Linked DNA regions of Homo sapiens: all the other regions are linked to region 2. Evidence: promoter capture Hi-C in 16 types of primary human blood cells and fetal thymus (Javierre and others, 2016). All regions are on one chromosome and are shown on one strand. The core of a region is centred on a gene start or on the middle of the fragment in contact, and the rest is flanking DNA. Distances in the headings are between cores, read along the strand shown.

The links. The method cuts DNA at HindIII sites, captures the fragments that hold promoters and counts their contacts. A CHiCAGO score of 5 or more calls a contact.
Region 1: the fragment with the promoter of EPHA8 here is called in contact with the fragment with the promoter of WNT4 in region 2 in 3 of 17 cell types (erythroblasts, total CD4 T cells and M1 macrophages); the score reaches 7.6 in erythroblasts.
Region 3: a contact is called between a fragment that was not itself captured here and the fragment with the promoter of WNT4 in region 2, in 1 of 17 cell types (endothelial precursors). The highest score is 5.7, in endothelial precursors.
Region 4: a fragment that was not itself captured here is called in contact with the fragment with the promoter of WNT4 in region 2 in 1 of 17 cell types (M2 macrophages); the score reaches 5.5 in M2 macrophages.

Annotation. Positions count from the first base shown.
Region 1 is chr1:22,562,119-22,564,818 of GRCh38, forward strand. It overlaps EPHA8 (EPH receptor A8), which reads left to right and starts at 1,371. Exons shown (of 17, transcript NM_020526.5): 1 at 1,371-1,611. The coding sequence starts at 1,518. RefSeq lists an enhancer at 1,909-2,409. The HindIII fragment of the contact is 15,431 bases long and covers 1-2,700 here.
Region 2 is chr1:22,141,665-22,144,400 of GRCh38, forward strand. It overlaps WNT4 (Wnt family member 4), which reads right to left and starts at 1,433. Exons shown (of 5, transcript NM_030761.5): 1 at 1,182-1,433. The coding sequence starts at 1,258. All of the region lies in intron 1 of LOC105376845 (a long non-coding RNA gene), which reads left to right. RefSeq lists silencers at 901-960, 1,523-1,852. The HindIII fragment of the contact is 11,467 bases long and covers 1-2,736 here.
Region 3 is chr1:22,507,950-22,510,853 of GRCh38, forward strand. It overlaps ZBTB40 (zinc finger and BTB domain containing 40), which reads left to right. Exons shown (of 18, transcript NM_014870.4): 7 at 52-188; 8 at 581-782; 9 at 1,151-1,284. Among named protein-coding and RNA genes, the nearest start is that of EPHA8, 54 kb to the right of the region's middle. The HindIII fragment of the contact is 1,098 bases long and covers 972-2,069 here.
Region 4 is chr1:22,590,132-22,592,874 of GRCh38, forward strand. The region is part of intron 5 of EPHA8 (EPH receptor A8); the gene reads left to right. Among named protein-coding and RNA genes, the nearest start is that of EPHA8, 28 kb to the left of the region's middle. The HindIII fragment of the contact is 6,999 bases long and covers 1-2,743 here.

The DNA.
Region 1 (2,700 bases), core at 121-2,620, 420 kb after region 2:
AGAGGAAAGAAACGGGCGTTGGAGCCAAGCAGCTGTGGATCTGAGTACCTCTCTAGCATTCAACCAGCTGTGTGATCTAAGGCAAATGATGGCCTTTCTGAGCTTCTGTTTCCTTAGGTGTGCCAGCCCTGCAAGGCTGTGTGAGGCTTAAACTGGAGCGAGTTTATAAAGCCCCTAGAGCAGGGTCTGACTCAGGGCACATGTTCCCCAAATGGCCTTTCTCATCCTATGTAACTTCCAGCCATGGCTCCAATTCTCCTCACCCCCCAGTGACCATGAGAGCTGGGAACGAAGGAAGAGGGGACTGGACGATGGTCTGTGCCAGGCGGCAGTGGGAAGCAATCAGGCACTTGCTCCCGTGGGCATCCACCCTCTCAGGAGGCTGCAGGTCTCTTGCCTGCTTCTCGGACTGCTTGGCCCACCAGGTGTGTGAGGGACTTGAGGGTGGCAGAGCAGGCCCCAGGATGCAGCCCTATATCCCTGTCCTCCCCTCACAGCCCAAAGCCATCCCTGGATGAGACCCCTAGTCCTGGGGGATGGAACTGGAGACAGGGAAGGTCAGGGGAGGGAAAAGCAGGGAATGATAGTCCCCCTCACTGGATAACAGCTCCCATGACCGGCCACCTGGCTGTGTGCCCGGCCGTCTGCCAGGAGTTCCACCTGGGCCCTTTCACGCCACCCTAGGATATCGATACTGGTATTCTTGTTTTACAGACATGAAGTTTTAGACTCAGAGAGCTTAAGAAACTTGCCTAAGGCCACACAGCAGGACACTTGTCTTCCTGGTCCCTGAGCCTGCCCTCCTGACCACTGCAATCTAAGGCCTCCTTAAAATCCCGTGGTCCCTAAATGCCAAGTTGTTGGGGTGGGGAAAGGGAGAGAGTTTTGGTTTTGGTGTTTTTTTGGTTTTTCACCTAAAAGTGCCTCTGAGTTTGCCGCTGAGCCCATCTCTGAGCCTCTGCCCATGAACTAGTGTGTATCCATCGGAGTGTGTCACCACGCGAAGCACTCGGTGTTGGGGTCATGCGGGCAGGAGCGAGCATGCGGTGGATGTGCGGCCCGCGCGTGTGTCCACAGAGGGAATCCCTGGGTGGGTCTGGTCCTGGTGTCGCCGGGACGTCCCGATGGTGGCTTCGCGCACTGGGGCCCTGAGCCCTGAGTCCAAGTGCGCAGCGCGGGGCGCGCCCCCGAAGGTGCCCGCCGGGGGAGTGTGGGCGTGCGCACGTGCGGCGGCGGTGGCCGCGGGCCGGGTGGCCGCGGTGCGGGCTCCGTGTCCCCCACCCCCCCGCCTCGGTGCTGATTGGCTCGGCGCCGTGACGGGCCGGCCCCCGCCCGGGGCGGCGGCGGCGGCGGCGGGCGCGGGTGCCCGCGTGTGCGCTGGGAGCCGCGTGTGCGCCGGGGTGTGCGCCCGGCCGGGTGTGCGGAGAGCGAGGGAGCGCGCTCCCTCCCGACGCGCGGGCCGCAGCGGCCAAGCCCGAGGGTGCGTGGCGCCCCCGCCCGCCCGGCCCGGCCCGGCCATGGCCCCCGCCCGGGGCCGCCTGCCCCCTGCGCTCTGGGTCGTCACGGCCGCGGCGGCGGCGGCCACCTGCGTGTCCGCGGCGCGCGGCGAAGGTGAGCGGCGGCGGCGGGGCGGGGCAGGGGCGGCCGAGGGGCGCGGGGCGCGGCGCGCGCTGCCTGCGGCTCAACTTCCTTTGCATGGACCCTGAGCTCCAAGGCGGCCGGGATCCCTCGGCCCGGGGGGCGGGGTGGCACCGCGGAAGAGACCCGGGATTAAGGGACAGAGCGGTGGAGATGGGAACCCGCGAGCTTGAGGAAGACGGACAGGTACCGGGGACTGGGGGACAGTGGGAAAGGACAGGAGACAGGACTGAGGGATGTGCAGCTGGGGACAGAATACTGAGGGTCGGACGCCGGGGACAAGGGGACAGGACTGGACAGAAGACAAGAGAAGAGGTAAGGAGGAGAGGGTACAGTGAGGTAGGGCAAGGAACAGGGTTGGGGACAGAGGACAGGGGGGTAGGCACTGGGGTTGGAGGGACAGGAGAATGGGGGAGGAGGTTCAGAGGGCAGAAGGCAAAGGGGGTGGGGACAGCATTGAGAGATAGGAGCCAGGCGCTGAGAAACGGGACCCCGGAGAGCAGGACTGGCTTTGAGGGGAGGCAGGAAGGAGGGGTGCGGAATGAGAGTCTGGGAGAGGGGTCAGGGCCCGAGGGCCACAGTCTGGCGACGGGCTGGGGAGAAGAAGGGAGGGCAGGGGAGTTCCAGCTGGAGGAGAGGCAGCTTCGTGGGCAGCGGGAGCGGCTTGGGGAGGAGAGGGCTGGGGGATGGGGAGGCCACAGAGAGATTGAGGCAGGCAGGCCCCGGAGAGCAAAGTCTTGTCAGAGAAGGCTGGGATGGCAGGGTCACTCTGGGGCCCTGTGTGGGAGGAAGGATTGGGGTGGGGAGGTGCACTGAGTCGTTGGGACCAAAAAGGTCTGGGAAATGACTTCTGGTGGTGGGGGCACAAGAAGAGCTGAGAGGGAGCACCTAAGCCTGCCACCCACACACCCGTTAGCTCCCTGGAGACCCCAGCTCCATCCAGCTCAGGAGGTTTCCCTGGGTCCCACTCCCCACACCCCAACCCCTGCCCTGACCCTCCTCTGTTCCCACAGCTCTGCCCCAAGGAAGCCAGAGCGTCTCTGTGCAGGCTCCCAGGGCTGA
Region 2 (2,736 bases), core at 183-2,682:
CTGGGTGGCTCTGACCCCAACGAACACACTCCTTCCAGCCTGGAGGGCTCTGGCTGGCCACAATGACCTCATAGCAACAGCCATTGGACACTCGGGGCAATTTCATGGGAGATATTTGTTCTTTGGTCTTGATGCAGAGAGAATTTTTTCCTCTCTCCCTGTCTCCATGGAAACCCCAGCTACACTGTTGGCGATCCCCCTTCCCACCCCATGCTTTTCAGATCAATATTGGAGCTTGGCTCCCCACTGGCTGCCCACAGCGGATGGTGGCAGAGCTCTGGGCAGGAGGAACTGGGGCCAGGGTTAAGCGCGGGGCATGGGGAACTGTCCCTGAGCGGGGATGAAAGGAGCGCGGGTCCGCTTGCTCCCTGTCCACCCACTCACTGGAGCTCATCCCTTTAGTCTCCCTCCCTGCAGCAAACCTTCCGCCCCTACCCAGGGAGCGCCCTGAGCGCAGATCCAGTCAAGGAGAAACAGACAGGTCACCAGCGGTTACCACCCCTTCCTCCTTAGGCTAGACACGGGGAGCTGGGGGGCCGTTGTCTTCTTTAAGGTCTGGACGGAGTTTCTTCCTGCCCCGGGGAAAAACCAAGGCCCGGCCAGCGCCAGCGCCAGCCCCGGGCCCTGGGAGACCAGGCGTCCTGGTCCCTTCCTTCTGTCTCCGGCTCCCGCCCCCCAAGCAGAAACAGGTCCCTGCACGCCTCCAGCCCAGCCCGCAGCGCGGCGCAGCTCGGCGCAGCTCGGCGCTGGGAGCTCGCTCCGGACTTCTCGGGATTAACCTGCTATTATGTCCCGGAGCCCTTCCCTGCAATGGGCTTCCTCAGCGACCTGTCAGCCCGGCTGGACTGCAACCCGCGTCCGGCGCCCCTCCCGGGCCACCGCCCCGCGCTCGCACCCCTGGCGCCCTCGAGAGCCCCGAGCCGCCTACCGGTGCGGACGCCGCCACAGCCACCCCTGACGCCTCTGGGCAGGGAGCCGGACCCGGGCAGGAGGGGACCCCGGGTGTGCAGAGGGACGTTCGGGCCGTGGCGGCGGCAGCGGAGCGAGCGAGCCTCCGGTCCCGCGGCCGAGACACCTGCCGGGCTGCCCCGCGCCCGCTGCCCCGCGCCGCCTGGCACCGGCCGCTGCCCCCGGGGCCTGCCCCGCCCCGCCCCGCCCCGCTCGGCCCCGGCCAGACTTACAGCCAGTTGCTCGCGGCGGCTGAGAAGACGGCGAAGACGAGGAGGCGCAGCGAACGCAGGCACGAGCGGGGACTCATGGTGCCGCCGCGGGCGCCCGGCCCGGGGCAGCGGCTGCGGCCGCGGGGGGCCTCCCGTCGGGGCTGCAGGTGGGCGCCCGCGGGCGGGCCGGGGCGCGCGCGGCGGGGCTCTGCCTCCGTGTGCCTGCCGGCAGCCTGCCCGCTGCTGCGCCCGCTGCCCGGCGCGGACCAGACTGTCAGCGCCGCCCCAGAGCCGGGATGCGGCGGCGGCGGCGGCGGCGGCGGCGGCGGAGGCGGGCGGGCGGGCGGGCGGCCGGGGGGGCGGGCCGGGGGCGGGCCGAGGATGGGGTTACCTGGGCGGGCCCAGCGGCCCGGGACACCCCCCCGGGGGCGGGCCGGAGCGGCGGCGGCTGCCGCCTTAGCCCGCGGGACTGGGCTGCTCCCGGGGCCTCCCCGGCTGGGCGCTCCGGAGGACTTGGGGCCCGAGCCCGCTCCAGGCACGCCTGGCTGCGCGCCGCCGAGCCCGGCCCGGCTAGAGGCGCGGCGACCCAGCTGCCCGGCCGCCGCCCGGGCCTAGGGGACAGGCGGGCACAGCTCCCCCAACCCGCCGCTGCGGGCACTGCAGCGCGGCCCTCGCTGTCCCCCTACCCCCCCCACCGCCCCCCGCCGGCGCCTGGAGCCCAGACCCCGGTCCGACCGCGGCGGACCCACCGGAGCGCGGCTACCACTCGCGCGCACCCAGGCGCTGGCGCTCCGGGTGCCTGGGGCTGCACATCGGGGCGCTGGATGTCTCCCGACCGCCCCCCGCCCGGCCCCTCCCTGCCTCCTGGCCCCCGCGTCCTGCGGCCCAGCCCCTCCCTGGCGCTCACCTCCCTACAGCCTTCCGGGAGCTGGACGGGGCCTCCCCAGCTTTGGGCAGCTTGGGACAGTGGCCCGAGACTGTGGGAATCCGAAACCTCGCTTCTGGCTAGCCACAAGGTCTGGGCGCGCCCCAGGCAGCAGGGTCTTGACTCTGAGCCTCCGTTTTCTCATCCGGGAAGTGGGCTTAAGACGCTGTGATTGGGAGGACAGGAGGAGTTTAGGGAAGCTCTCTTGGCTCACTCACCAAGTCTTACTTTGCATTTGGTTTTCTATGTGCTTGTTCGATTTATCCTCCCATACTAGGCAGATTCAGCCTCTTGTTTGTTTTGGGCACAGGGCGGTGCCTGCCATGTTTGTGGAAGGAATAAATGAATGGAATGGAATGGGCTGCAACAGCCTGTGCTTGGCTAGTCCAGAGAGCTCAATTCCACATCACTGTAACCCCTAAGAATTGTCTGCCCAAGTCCACGCCACACCCTCTCAGGTCACTGATCTGATTCTGTGTGCTACTCATCCTCCAGGCTGCATCCCCCAGCTGCTCACAGGTAGAGGGACCTCTTATCTAAACAGTAAAACTAAGGCCCGGAAAGGGAGGCACCTGTCCCACCTCCCTAGGGGTTGGGAACAGAGGCAAGGACCAGGTCTATGCCCTCACCCCCTGATCTTAGTTCTTCACT
Region 3 (2,904 bases), core at 271-2,770, 370 kb after region 2:
GTAGGAGGTTTTGTTGCATCAAACATTATTGTTTTGCTAATATCCTTACAGTCCAACCAAGCCCTGATGATTATGGGACTGAGCTATTGAGACGCTATCATGAAAACCTCTCTGAGATTTTCACAGACAACCAGATTTTATTAAAGATGATCTCACACATGACAAGTTTAGCCCCTGGAGAAAGAGAGGTAAGAGAGGGAGAGAAACAGAGGGAGGGGAGGGTAAAATGAGAAAGAAGGAAAAAATATGAATACACACACACATTTATATTTTCTGTAAATATACATATGTAGCCATGTTGAGAATTGCTAAGTAGAGGAGAAATAGAAGGTATCTCAGTTTCTAAGGTGGAATAACAAATAGAATAGTTCTAATTTCTGTGGTAATAAGGAAAGGCATTCAAAAGGAGAAATGAAGAACTTTGTCATGTATAAGAAATCTCTCAGACTGAGAGGTGAGGATGTTGAAAAACTCCTTCCCCAAACATATTCACTGTAACCCAATATCTAGACTTGCAGCTCTGCAGCTGGGCTAGTGGCTGGAGAGTCTCTTACGTGAGTGTTTGTGTTACATCTTGAAGGTCATGGAGAAGCTTGTGAAACGTGACTCTGGTTCAGGTGGTTTCAATTCTCTGATATCAGCAGTTCTAGAAAAGCAGACTCTCTCTGCCACAGCCATTTGGCAACTGCTGCTGGTGGTTCAGGAGACAAAGACCTGTCCATTGGACCTGCTCATGGAGGAAATACGAAGGGAGCCTGGTGCCGATGCTTTCTTCCGGGCAGGTAAGTTACCTGCCCTCTGGGGGGGTTTTGCCCCCACTAGAGATGACTGTCAGTCTTCCTAGAAAATAGGAAGAGCTCTCTTAACGGTAGTCACCTACATCCCTACTATTAGAAGTAAGGACTGGCAGTTTTGTTCAAGGACACAAGAGTTTGTAAACCTTTTAAAAAATAGATCCAGTAATTATCTTAAGCTTACATTCATTATTATACTCTGATTACAGTGCTATTTGCCGTTTTCCCCACTGCCAACCTCAGATAGGAGATAGGGGAAATGCATTTTCATTATGAAGAGTTGAGTGGAGGAAGGGTGTAGGAAAAAATGGTGCTCATTGTTTGCCTAATGAGTTTTTGATCCCCCTTTTTTTCAGTGACCACCCCAGAACATGCCACTTTAGAAACAATCCTGAGGCATAACCAGTTGATCTTGGAGGCCATCCAACAGAAGATTGAGTACAAGCTCTTTACCTCGGAGGAGGAGCACCTGGCAGAGACTGTGAAAGAGGTGTGGTGGGAATAAAAAGCGAAATGCCAGAGAGTTTTACAGTTGTTGCCTGGGACTGTCTTCATTCCTAAGAGAGGAACCAATAGTTGGTTGGGTTGTTTTTCCTTCTTTTTTTTTCCTTTTTCTCTTTTGAGACAGAGTCTTGCTCTGTCGCCCAGGCTGCAGTGCAGTGGCACGATCTTGGCTCATGGCAACCTCTGCCTTCCGGGTTCAAGCGATTCTCCTGCCTCAGCCTCCCAAGTAACTGGGATTACAGGTGCGCACCACCGTGCCCTGCTAATTTTTTGTATTTTTAGTGGAGACGGGGTTTCGCCATGTTGGCCAGGCTGGTCTCGAACTCCTGGCCTCAAGTGATTCACCCATCTCAGCTTTGCCAGAGTGCTGGGATTACAGGCGTGAGCCACTGTGCCTGGCCAGAACCAATATCTGTACCCCTTGCTAGGCTAATGCTTCCTAACACGTTTGCTCTTTTAATCCTTCCAGCTCTACATGGCAGGTGATGTTATCACATTTTATAGACAAGGGTTCTCAGGCCCCAAAGGGTTAAGTTACCTGTCTAAAATGCTCTGGCAGGGAGGAGATGATGTCAGGATTTGAACCCAGCTTCCTATGACTCAAACCAATTTATTCCATTTATCTAAACCTGGTATCCCCTGGAGCCATGATACTGTTCTCTTACCTGTTCTAAGAAGCAGCTTCTCTCAGATGAAGGAAAGTAAAACTGGTCTTATTACATGTTCTATTCTGGCTTCTAGAAAGAGCCAAGATAAACATAGATAAAACAAAGCTTTTGCCCATATTGGGTAGCAAATAGTGCCAGCTCATTTTCTGTAAGCCTTCACACAATGTGGCCAGCATCCCAGGAATACCAAGTGGGGACTGGGGGAACTCATGGGTGTCCAGCCCAGGATCATTTGCATCCTGAGTGGGGAAGAACAAGAAAGGAACATGAAATTAAACTACAGATTCAAATGTAGTGCCCTTTTGATTCAGGTAGGTGTGGAAGGTGTGCAGAAGGGCGGGTTTCTAACTCTCTCTGTGCAGGTGACAGCCACATGTTGGTCTGACTCAGATGGGAAGAAGATGGCACACATTTCTGTGGGGCTTCAGAGGAAAGACTCATCTGTTAGACTCTCTCCAGCACGCCGTAACTTCAGAGATGGGGCTTCTGCAGTTGATCAGTTTTAGCCTCACTAATTAGTCTCATGCCTGCCTCCAGGGACATCAGGTTTATTTAGATAGACTTGAAAAGAGCAGAAATAAAATATCTTCCAAAATGAAAATTCCGTTTGGCCATCTGTGGATGGTTTAGCTTTATTTTCTCAGTGTACCGACTCTTTCTGCTGATAGCTCTAACATTCTGAAAGAGGACGACGGCTTTGAAATAATATTCTTGGACTCTTTAAAGCTTCTATTTGAACCTTCTTTAAAACGCTGAGTTTCTTTGTGAAAGAAAATGACGTTTAAATGGGTACATCTAAGTATCTAAAAATATGAAGCCACTGATCATGCAGAATTACTTCCAGACATTGAGACAATTATATATTATGAAAACTTATTCTGATTTTCAAGACAGACACACCGACGACCAAATCCTATAGCTTTTCAAGCTTTTAGTAT
Region 4 (2,743 bases), core at 161-2,660, 450 kb after region 2:
ACACCCACTAAATGCCAAGTGTGGTGCCAGGTGCTGGCAACACAGAGAGAGAGTGAGCTATGTGCCCCGTGGTAGAGCCCAGCCCTGGCCCACCTGTCTCTAGGCACCTGAGGCCCCTGGCAGGCTGGTCCCAAGTGGAGGGGAGAGCAAGAGAAGTTCACAGCATTCAGGCAGCATCCGGGATGCCCCAACATTAAAGAGGAAACTAGACCCTGCCTTGAACCTGCCTTCCCCTCCGGTCACCAGACCATTTCTCTTCCCATACGACCCTCTCTGTCCGTGCCTGGCGTATCTACTTCTTCCTCTCCTCTGCGGGACTTCTCCATGTCTTTCCTCACCTCTTCACAGAAATCAGCAGCCCTGCGTGGCCACATCCATGGGCGCCTCTTCCCCCTTTCATTTCCTCCTCCTGGAAACACTTTTCTCTTGCTCGTGTGTCCCAGCCCACGCCCATTTTCCATTGACCTGTGTGGCCTGTCCCTCTCTGTCTTTGTAGCCCCACCTCCTTTAAATGGCCTCTAAAGGCCATGGGTCCCTGGGAATGTCCTGGGCCCTCCTCTCTTTCCTGTGTGCCCAGATCCATCTTTTCTGGGCGGCTGTTTCAGGGCCCATGACTTTGAATTCCACCTTTGTGCTAACAACCCCCAACTCGCGGTCACCAGCGAAGACCTCTCCCCTAGGACCCAGCTGCCCACTCCTGTCTCCATTCGGTTATGTGAAAAACAAACAACCCTGCCACACCTGCACCTGCCCCGCCCTAGGACATGGCACCTCCAGACCCAAGCTGTCATCCTTGACTCTCATGCATGTCACATCCATCCCCCCCTAAAGCCCCAGGGACCTCCCTTCAAAATGACCAACTGACTTCCACCCCCCACGAGTCCATGCCTGGACCACCACAGGAGACCCCTCTTGCCTCACCCCCACAAGACATTCTCCACACCAGTCCTGAGTGAGCTTTAAAAATAGAAGTGAGGGCTGGGTGTGGTGGCTCACGCCTGTAATCCCAGCATTTTGGGAGGCCAAGGCGGGAGGATCACTTGAGGCCAGGAGTTTGAGATCAGCCTGGGCAACATGGCAAGACCCCATCTCTACAAAAAAAATTTTTTTTGAGACAATGTCTCTATCTGTCACCCATGCTGGAGTGTGGTGGCACAATCACGGCTCACTGCAGTCTTGATCTCCGGAGCCCAAGTGATCCTCCCACCTCAGCCTCCCAAGTAGCTGACCAAGGGCACACACCACCATGCCCAGTGATTTTTTTTTTTTTGTAGAGATGGGGTCTCCCTATATTTCCCAGGCTGATCTGAAACTCCTGGGCTCAAGTGATCCTCCTGCCTCAGCCTCCCACAGTACTGGGATTACAGGCATGAGCCACCATGCCCAGCACCACCGCCCCCCAAGTTTTTTAGATGAAAATACATGAGAACAAGCTGTCCTCAAAGCCCTTCACAGCCTAGGCTGAGCGCACATGCAATTCAGACATTCTCATGGCCTGTGGACCCACACAGCTTCACCCCTGCCTGCCTCTCCAGAGCACCTCTTTCCCTGGCTCACTCTCTTCTGGCCATGATGGTCTCCGGTGCCCCCTCCTTGAACACACTGGGTCTTTCCCTGCTGCTAGGCCGTGGCCTGGCTTCTCCTTCGGAATGACTCACTCTTCCCCTGACATTCCTATGCCTGGCTCCTCTGCCCTGGAAGCTCCCCCGACCACCTCAGCTGAAACGTGCCAGTGCCCTTCCGGGCCCTGCAGTGGTCTTCTCCATCACAGACAGCACCCCTTCCTACCTTTCCCAGCACCAAAAGAACCCCCATTCTCCTGTTTATTGGACGCCCTGTCTCCTTTCCTGGGACAGAAGCTCCTAGAGGGATGTCTTGGGCACTGCAGAGTTCCCGGCTCCTAGCCCCGTGCCCAGCATGTGATAGGCACTCAGGAGTCCTAGAGGATCAAGCGACAGCTCTAAGCAAATGTGGAGGACTGTGCTCAAAGACCACCTGCCCCTCCTGCCTCACCATCACCACTTCTCTACAACCAACTCCTCCCTGGAGCCCTCTCGGACGCGAACCCCATTCCCCTCCCGCTCTGGGCCCTGGTCTCACTCTGTCTGCCCCCATCCCACAGCACCTCCTGCCTTGGTTTTTAAGAGACACACCCTGTGTGTCCCTTGCAAACAGTGGCCTCATCGAATCCTCCCCTCCCCCTGGCAAGTGGTGCTCACTAGCTTCACTTTATAGAAGGGGACCTGGTGTCCGCAGACAGCAAGTGACTCACCCAGGGTCCCAGCTAGCAAGAGAGGGAGCCAAGTCCCGAACCCACGCCTGGCTCCCAGACTGGTGGGCTTTCCCCTGGACCACACCCTTCCAGTGCAACTCTGGAGCTGCTTCTTAATTTCTCATGCCAGAATCCTCAGCAGCATTTATTGGGCACCTACTGTGTGCAGTCCCTGCCCCCAGGGAGCTCCCGGTTGTGCTGGGGATGCCCAGACATGAGGGAAGACTTAGTCACATAGGGCAGAGAGTCAGAACTCGGGGTGAGCAGAGGGGAGGAGGAGGCCTGAGGGCTGGAGGGGCAGGGAGGACAGGGCAGTTCCCTCTGTTTGGCTGTGGCGTGGCTGTGTCTGACACCTCCTAGCAGCCTCCCCACAGGGCTGACCGCACCTGAGCCAGGAGGGAGAGATGCATGAAGAAAGGCATGGGTGACGCCGTCAAGGAGGGAGGGGTGGGCGGGCAACCAAGTGTGACT